2 separate regions of the Homo sapiens genome follow, and region 2 is linked to region 1. The links are contacts of gene promoters, found by promoter capture Hi-C in blood cells and fetal thymus (Javierre and others, 2016). All regions are on one chromosome and are shown on one strand. Each heading gives the region's core, a stretch centred on a gene start or on the middle of the fragment in contact. The rest is flanking DNA. Distances are from core to core; before and after follow the strand shown. Region 1 holds the start of NCOR2 (nuclear receptor corepressor 2). Region 2 has its middle 73 kb from the start of NCOR2.

Evidence for each region. Contacts are between HindIII fragments. The CHiCAGO score rates a contact against its expected background, and 5 or more counts as called.
Region 2: a fragment that was not itself captured here is called in contact with the fragment with the promoter of NCOR2 in region 1 in 5 of 17 cell types (monocytes, M0 macrophages, M1 macrophages and 2 more); the score reaches 16.2 in monocytes.

Annotation. Positions count from the first base shown.
Region 1 is chr12:124,565,543-124,569,702 of GRCh38, forward strand. It overlaps NCOR2 (nuclear receptor corepressor 2), which reads right to left and starts at 2,070. Exons shown (of 49, transcript NM_006312.6): 1 at 1,766-2,070. RefSeq lists silencers at 816-915, 1,116-1,335, 1,476-1,585, 1,606-1,965, 2,076-2,325 and enhancers at 2,446-2,495, 2,662-3,522, 3,523-4,160. The HindIII fragment of the contact is 7,570 bases long and covers 1-4,160 here.
Region 2 is chr12:124,638,792-124,642,951 of GRCh38, forward strand. No RefSeq gene overlaps it. Among named protein-coding and RNA genes, the nearest start is that of NCOR2, 73 kb to the left of the region's middle. The HindIII fragment of the contact is 1,064 bases long and covers 1,756-2,819 here.

The DNA.
Region 1 (4,160 bases), core at 820-3,319:
ATCCCCCCACTGTCCACCCCCAGCCAAAGGTAAGGTGGCCCCTTTTCACAGGGCTTCCAGACCACGTTGGATTAAAGGCCCAATCTTAGAACCCAGGAATAATAATACCGACACAGTAGTCATAGTAACACATACAAGTACCAAGGGATTCTTATGGCCGGACGGTCAGCTCTCACAACCACTCTGTGAACTCAGTACCATTTTGACCCTCATTTTGCAGATGGGAAACCTGACAGGCACAGAGAAGTTAAGCATCTGTCCAGGGTCACACTGCCAGGAAAGTGGCAAAGGTCAGAGTCAAACCCCAGGAGCTGAGGTGCAGAGTGGGCCATCCCACCTCACTGCTGCTTGCCATTTCTCGGCCCCTCCTCAGCACCCCCAAAGAGGCCACCCACGAGGTACACAGCCTGCCCCGGGTCGCCCTCCCGGCGCAGTCTGGCCCGGAGAGCCCCTTATATCAAAGCTGCCGCAAGGACCCAGATCTGGCTGAAAAGGGGCAAAGTCAAGGCCACCGGTAACACATCCCAACGCGCCCAGAACTCCCCCACCCCGCCCACAGGGTCCTCCCCTTATCCCCTCCTCCCCTCTTCCCTCCCTCACACATCCTTCCTCCAAATCTGCAAAAAGGGAAAAATAATAATAATCACAATAAAACCAGTTCTCACCAACGGGGGAGAGGAGGAGGGGGAGGAAGGGAGGAGGCTGAGCCGACAGAACAGATCCGCCCCCGCTGCCTGCACCAGACCCTCGGAGAGCCGGAGCGCGCGACAGGCGGCGGGAGGACACTCGCTTCCAAAAAAATAAACCTACAATGTAAAAATAACGCCGGGCGCCCCACGCTAATTGGGCCCGGGCGACAGCAGCTCCCAGGTACAGCCTGTCTCTCCCTCCCGCCCGCCGTGCCCTCCCGCCCTCGGCTTGCTCCTCCTGCAAGTGTCTGGGGCGGGGAGGGCGTACCCCACGGGTGCCCTCACTCCCCGCAGGCCTCTGAGGAAGCTGCCCTCTAGACAAGGGTCTGGGTCTTCCCAGTCGTGCCCAAGTGGGATCAGCTCTGAATTCCAACTTCGCAAAGTAGTGGCATCCCAAGTATCCGCACAGCCCGGGGGAGGGACTAGGAGGCGGCCCAATGAGGCGTCACCAGCCACGGGAGGCAGGCCCAGACACCAGGAACACCGGCCCGCGGGGGAGGGGGACCAGGGGCGACTCTCCCGAGGGACCCCGCCCAGCGCCCCGTGGCCCCACGCCTAGGAGGGACAAGGCTGGCTCTCCCCCTCGGCTGGTGAGAGACCCTCATGCGCCCCTCCACAACAGCCAGGCCAGGGAGCTAGGGGTACCATCTCCAAGGGCTTTCAAACCCGCGCTGCCCGATGGAAAATAAGGCGCAGTGTCGCCCCGCCAGGTCCGGGGCTACACCGGGTACAAGGGACGCCTGGCGGCCAAGTCCCCAGAGCCGGCGCACACTGTGGGGGGCCGCTCTGTGCATTTCCAGCGCGCCCCCCGCCCACCCCAACGCCACTTCCCTCCTTCCCGCCCCCTCGCTAGGGAGCTGGAGTTCCCCTAAGTTCCCCGGCGCCCCCGAGCACGCGGGCCGCAGTGTCGGCGGGGCGCCTTGCTCCCCAGCAGGCCACCCCCCGAGAGCGCCAACTCGGGAGTGCAGGGGCCCCGCCAACTCCGCCGCGTGCGCCGCCCGATCCTCCCCGGATCCCCCGGAAGCGCGCTCCGCGCCTCCCCCCGCCCTTCGCGGGGACCCTCGGCCCCAACTCACCTCGCGGAGGTGGCAGCGGTGGCGCCCGGGCTTGGGGCGCGCTCGGGCCGCCGGGGCGCTCAGGCAAGTGGCGGTGCCGATCGGGCTGGGGGCGCGCAGCAGGCCCGGCCTCGGGTCGGGACGCGATCCTCCCGCCGCCGCCTCCTAGGGCGCCGGCCCTGGGTCCCCGGCCCGCAAGTTGGCGCGCATCGCGGAGCGCAGGGCGCGGGCGCAGGGCTCGGGCGGGGCGCCGGCGGACGCGGGGCTCCGGTGCGGCCCGGCCTGCCCGCGGCTCCGCGCTCCCCGGCGGCCGCGGCGGCGGTGGCGGCGGCGGCGGCGGCGGCGGCGGCGGGAGGGGGAGGAGGGGGCGGGGCGCGAGCCCGGGAGGCGGTGGCTCGGCCTCCCTGCTCCCGGCTCCCCGCCCGCAGCGACGCGCCCCGGCCCGGCCCCCTCTGGCTCCTTAAAGGGCCCGCGCCTTCTCTCCAGGCCCTGCGCGTCCCCACTCGCGCGCGCACGCCGCCACACACACAGACACGCACGCACACACTTGGGCGCGACGCCGAGTTTCTTTTTGGCAGCTCCCCGAGGAGGAAGGAGGGGGGAAGCGCCTCCCAGCCTTCCCCTCCCTCTTCTCCTGCGGGCCCGGGGGCCCTCCTCCTCCTCTCCAGCCCCAGTACCTCACTGGAATCGCGTTTCAGCTATTAAATTATAACTCTGGAGTGGCCGCTGGATGGGGAGGGGGCGCGCAGGGAGGGCCCTACACAGGGCCTTTTAGGAGCACGCCCAGTGGGGCACTTGGGGACGGGAGCAGACAGTAGCGCAGAGCCCTCTCCAGGCAGGAACACGCTGGGCCTCCCCAGACCCGAGACCCAGCCCGGGCGAACACACTGCAGACTCACCACCCACCACGGACCGGAGATGTCAGATCTCACACAGACAAATACTGGGACACCCACGCGAGTTCACAGCACCCCGGAGGACACAGACGCTAGAATGCCAGTTTCCTGAGGGCAGAGATTTCTATTTTGTTCACTGCCCTATCGCAGTAGGGACTCACGAATGTGTTGAGTGAAGTCCCACTTGGGGACATTCAGGGACACAAATGCGGAGACAATGCAACGAGCCTGTGTCCCCCCCGCCCCCCCCACACACACACACAGACACACACATCCCAAAGCGTGACCCTGGGAGCCACACACGCCCGGCCTGCACAAGCACGCAGTCACAGACGGCACACATGTGCTCGCTCCCCCACGCACAGGCAGACACTCTCCGCTCCAGCAGGAACCTGGCCCCCCTGGCCGCCCTGACAACCCAGTGTCCTCATTTACCCCCTCCTCCCACCCCCTCCAGGTTTGCCCTCTCCAACCAGGGCAGATCTCTTTGAACAGCAGAGGGCACTGGGAGCCCTGGGCCTGGAGCCTCCCTCCCTCCCTCCTCTTCTGCTTTCTCCTAAGATGTTGGAGAGTTTGAATTTTTTTTTTTTTTTTCAGTTCAACTTTCCTTTTTTGGAGTGACGTCTCAGCAGATTCAGTTCTGCCATCTGGCAACATCTGAGAACCCCCAGGGAGAGCGGGGAATGGCTGCGGTGGGGAGGCAGCCGCGTGGTTTCCAGAGGCCGGCGGGCCTCCCGCCTCCGCCAGGATGCTGGGTTTGCCGGGCTCCCCTGCAGCCAGGTCCTTCTCTGCCCCCTCGGGCTTTTAATTATGAGCTTTTGGGGGGCTGGCGGGAGCCTCTGGGGCTGACAATGTCTGGCAAAAGGGAAGTGGGTGTGGAGGGGAGCAGTTTGCAGACTGAAACAGGAGGGGTCATAGGTCAGTGCCCCCCCCCCACCTCCTTGTTTTGGCCCGACCAGCTCCAGTTCTGCCCAGCCAGTCGGTCCGAATCCACAGGCAAAAAGCTGGAGCCGCAGAAGGAAGGCCTGATCCCCCACCTCCCCCACCAAGGGTCTTGGAGAGGGAAGCGGGGGCGGGGGAGCTCCTCTGCCAGCCCCAGGCCGCCTGGCAGCCCTCCTCTGTCACCTGAAAACCCTCTGGGAATTTGCATTTCCATGAGATTCAGCTCTATTTGAAGCTGGAGGAGGGACATTTGGGGTGTCTTCAGGGGTCTCCCAGCTTCTGCCCTCGAGGGCTCCCTGCAGGCTTAGGAGCGGGGAAAGCAGGGGGTCTGTCAGCTTTGTAATGTCCCAAGCGTCACCTAGAAATCCCTCACTGGAAGCCTTATCAACTCAAGCGCCAATGGCCTCTGGCCCGACCATGTCACAGATGGCAAGACTGAGGCCAGGAGAAGGGCAGCGTTTATCCCGAAAGGGATTGGCCCTTTCCCGTCTGCTCCTGTTTCCTGGCTGAATTGGGTTATTAATCTCACCCTCACAGACGGCGGGGAGTAACACCAGCACTGAGTGAGCACTTACCCT
Region 2 (4,160 bases), core at 1,038-3,537, 73 kb after region 1:
GGCTGCGCATTGTCTGATGGATGATGGCAAGTGTTGCTTTGACTGTCCTCTGGGGATCTGACTGCAGGAGGCAAGGGCAGCACCAACTCCTAGGGGCGTCCTGGAGGTCGCTGTCATCACGCTGGGCCTGTGATGAGTGCTCAGCCCATGATGGTCAGGGTGGATATTGCTGTGATATCATTGTTGCCAACAGGCCCTTTCCATATGCCAGCAGAGGCTCATACCGAATCTAATCCCCCAAAGCTCAGAATCCGGGAAAAGTAAGATACTTTAATTCCTCCAAGTAAGGGGGCCCAGGTCCGAGACCCAAAGAAGACTCTGGGACCTCAGGGGAGGAGGGGGTCAGCTGGGACCGCCCTCCTCTAACACCCCTTCCCACACCTTGGAATGCACCTCAGGCCCAGAAGGACTAACTGAGTTGACATCCCCAATTCACCCCAGGCCTTCTCTCAACGTCCTAGAAAAGCTACCCATCTGTCTGCCAAAATCTCTGCATCTCCCCAGCCAGGCAACTCCCAACCCATTTACCAACTGGAAAGGATCCTTGGCCCCCAGCTACTGTTCCCTGCTCAGAACTCTCAGTGAATCTTGGCTGCAACTGCCACCTACTTGATGTCTGTGAGTGAATATTCCATGTCTCCCCCATTGAGTTTCCCCAGGTCAGAGACTGCTGAAACTTGCAGGGAACTCTGAGATGGCCAAGCTCAGGGTTGGCGAATACATAGCACTTTCCCTGCCTACACCTAGGCAGACATCAGAAATCAATCCCAGCTCTCTCTCCCATTGAGCTTGAGCATTGCCTGAGAATCCTCAGCCTAGACCTTAGTGCAATCTAGGAATTGGCACAGGATTAAAGCTCCTGGCTGTGCCCAGTCTAGCACAAAGCCCTCATTTCGTAAGTGGGGAAACTGACGCCCAGTAACAGGAAGGGACTAAAATTCAGGCCCCTTGACTTCCAGCCAACAGTCTCTTTCCTCGAGGGCAAAGGGACATCTATCATTTATGTTCTCCCTGTGGGATATGGTGAAGAGATAGTGTACAACAGAGATTTGTTCAACGAATAACAAGAATGAAACAAACAAAAAACAAGGAAAGAAAGAAGAGAGTTTTAGATGCAATAGGTAAAAACTGGCTCGGGTGTGAGAAAGAAACCCATGACATCGTGTTGCTAGACGTTTAGAAAAGTTGCTAAGGGAAATTTTTAGAGTGTCTTTCCTTGCAGAACTTTAAAAATAGTCCTGAAAAAAAAAAAGTAGTCCTGATTAAGTGCCCATCTGCCTGGGAGCCTCCTGCGGAATGCTGGGTGTGTTATTCACTCATAGTTGACAAGTGTTTGTTGAACATCAACTATATGCTGAGCATAAATCAGTCATTGAATTAAAAAGCAAAAATAACAGCTAGAATCTGTATCTCTCTGAGTTAGAGATCTTTGGCTGCAAGCAACAGAAACCAAGTCCAAAACTCAAGCACGAAGGGGGTTTGGGGAAGGAAAGAGGATGACTCACAAAAATGACAGAACAGCTCAACTCGGCTCGCCTGGGCACTGCCTGTGGCATGAATCGTCTCCCTGCTATTTCTTCATATTTTCCCAGATTCAAAATCTGGGTAAGAGAGGCTGCTGGCCTCACTTGGGTCAACTCTTGATCAGGAGAAGGTGGAGCTCCTTGATTGGCAGCTCTTTGTTTTAGCCCAGGTTACCTGGAGCACAGAGGCTGAGGCAGGGTTTCCTGGCTAATGCTATTCTGATGGGGTGCAAGCTTAGGACGGCAAGAGTGAGAGCAAAGGGACAAACAAGGTGACGGGCCTCTGAGATGGTCATGGCATCACATCAACCACAGCTGGACAGTGGGTCACATGAGACTGTGCTAGCTTCCATCCACCTCCTACGTCTCATGGGTCAGAGCTCTGGGAAAGCCAGAGCCAACACTCCACAGCACAGAGCTTCATCTGCTCCAGAAGGGAGAGGGAAACAGCACCTCCATGGGCTGGGTCAAACCAAGCCTGGGAACTAAATGACTGCACGGCTCCTTCTTGGTGGGTGTATTAGTTATCCACTGCCACGTAACAAAATATCCTAAAACCAACCATAAATATATGTGATCTCACACAGTTTCTGTGGGTCAGAGATTGGAGAGCAGCTTAGCTGGGTGGCTCTGCTCTAGGGTCTCTCACGAGGGTACAATCAGGGTATCAGCTGGGGCTGCAGTCATCTCAAGGCTTTATTGAGGCAGAGACACCCATTTCCAAGATGGCGCACACACGTGGCTGCTGGTGGGTGTGTTCATCAGCTCGGGCTGCTGTCACAAAAGACCACAGGCTGTGTGGCTTCAACAATAGACATTTATTTTCTCACAGTTCTGGAGGCTGAAAACTCCAAGATCAAGGGTTAGCAGGTTTGGTTTTCCCTTCTGGGGCCACGAATGTGTTCTGGAGCTAGCTCTCGATGATCTGGAAGTCCCCAAGCACATGGTGGAGGCACTTAATGTCACTGAGCTGTACACTTTCAGATGGTTACGATGGAGAATTTTATATCATGTATATTTTCACACACACACACACACACACACACACACACACACACACACACAATCTGCGTCAGGGGTTTGGGGATCATGTCTCAGCTCTGCCACTAAATGAGTTTGTCTTTGAGAAAGTGACTTTCTCTCCCTGGCCTTGGTTTCTCTCCTCCCACTCTCCAATCTTCTGATGGGCCTCCCATTGGCCAAACCCAACCAGGAGCCAGAGGACAACGGGATCAGGGTCAGTCCCTGGGGGTCACAGATCTGGCGGACAAGATTGGAGAGTGGCTTGGACAAGCAAGCTTACGGGGGAACCACCATGTTACCCTAGAAATAACAGGCCAAGAAGAGAAGCGACATCTTCTGGTGTTTGATTTGCTTGCCTCTGGCTAAGTGCCTGTCTCCTTAGCCCCTAGCTCCCTCCTTGCCCAGAGAGAGGCTTCCTGCAAAGTGCTGACCCAGCGCCACCCCGCCAGATGCCAACAGGAATTTCTTAAGCATATGTGCCACACCAGCTCCATTCTCAGCACCACACCCACTGCCAGCGCCTGCAGTCCTTGTCTTGGCTTCTGGCTGTGCAGGGGAGGGTCCCAGCACTGCCTGTTCCCCCCAGGGAGGCTCCAGCCCATCTCGGTTAAACCTCATCTTACCAACCTTTGGGTCTTAAGGCTCTTCACTTGGGATCCAGCACAAGTCAGTCAGTAATTCATTCAACAAACCTTCACGGTGCAAAGTGCCCAAGATGTAGGGGTGTTGGGCAGAAGGGAGGTTCCAGCCTTTGAGGAGCTCCCAGTTCTGCAAGCAGGACAGAGAAGCAAATGCCCCATCCCAGGCAGAGTAACAATATTTAAAAATAAATAATTAGCATTGGATGCTCACGGTGGCTCACAATTGTAATCTCAGCACTTTGGGAGGCCAAGGCAGGAGAGCGTGGGGCCAGAAGTTTGAGACCAGCCTGGGTAACATAGCAAAACCCTGTCTCTACTAAAACAAACAAACACACAAGCTCAGCTGGGCATGGTGGTGCATGCCTGTGGTCCCAGCTACTCGGGGGCCTGAGGTAGGAGGCTCACTTGAGCCCAGGAGGGCAAGGCTGCAGTGAGCCGAGATCGTGCCGCTGCACTCCAGGCCGGGCGGCAGAGCAAGACCCTATCTCTAACAATAAAAATAAAAAATAATAGTTCAAGTTGAGGCTCCCTGAGTGCCTGTTGTACACCAGGCTCCTTACCTGTGTCAGCCCCCTTCATTCTGGACGGTACAGTTGTCACACCCACTGCTGTGGTCTGAATGTTCGGGGTGCAGCAAAAATGCACATGTTGGAGCCTAGCACCCAACATGATATTAATATTAGTAGTATCAAGAGGGGCCTTTGGGGGAATGATTAAATCATCAGTGCTCTGCCCTCACAAATGGGATCAGGGCTCTTACAAAAGAGGTTGAAGGGCCAGGCATGGTGGCAGGTGCCTATAAGCCCAGCTACTTGGGAGGCTAAGGCAGGAGAATCATTTGAACCTTTGGGGGCCGAGTTTGCAGTGAGCCAAGATCATGCCACTGCACTCCAGCCTGGGCAAAAAGAGCTAAATTCCATCTCAAAAAAAAAAAAAAAAAAAAAAAAGAGGATGGAAAGAGAGCCCTAGTCTC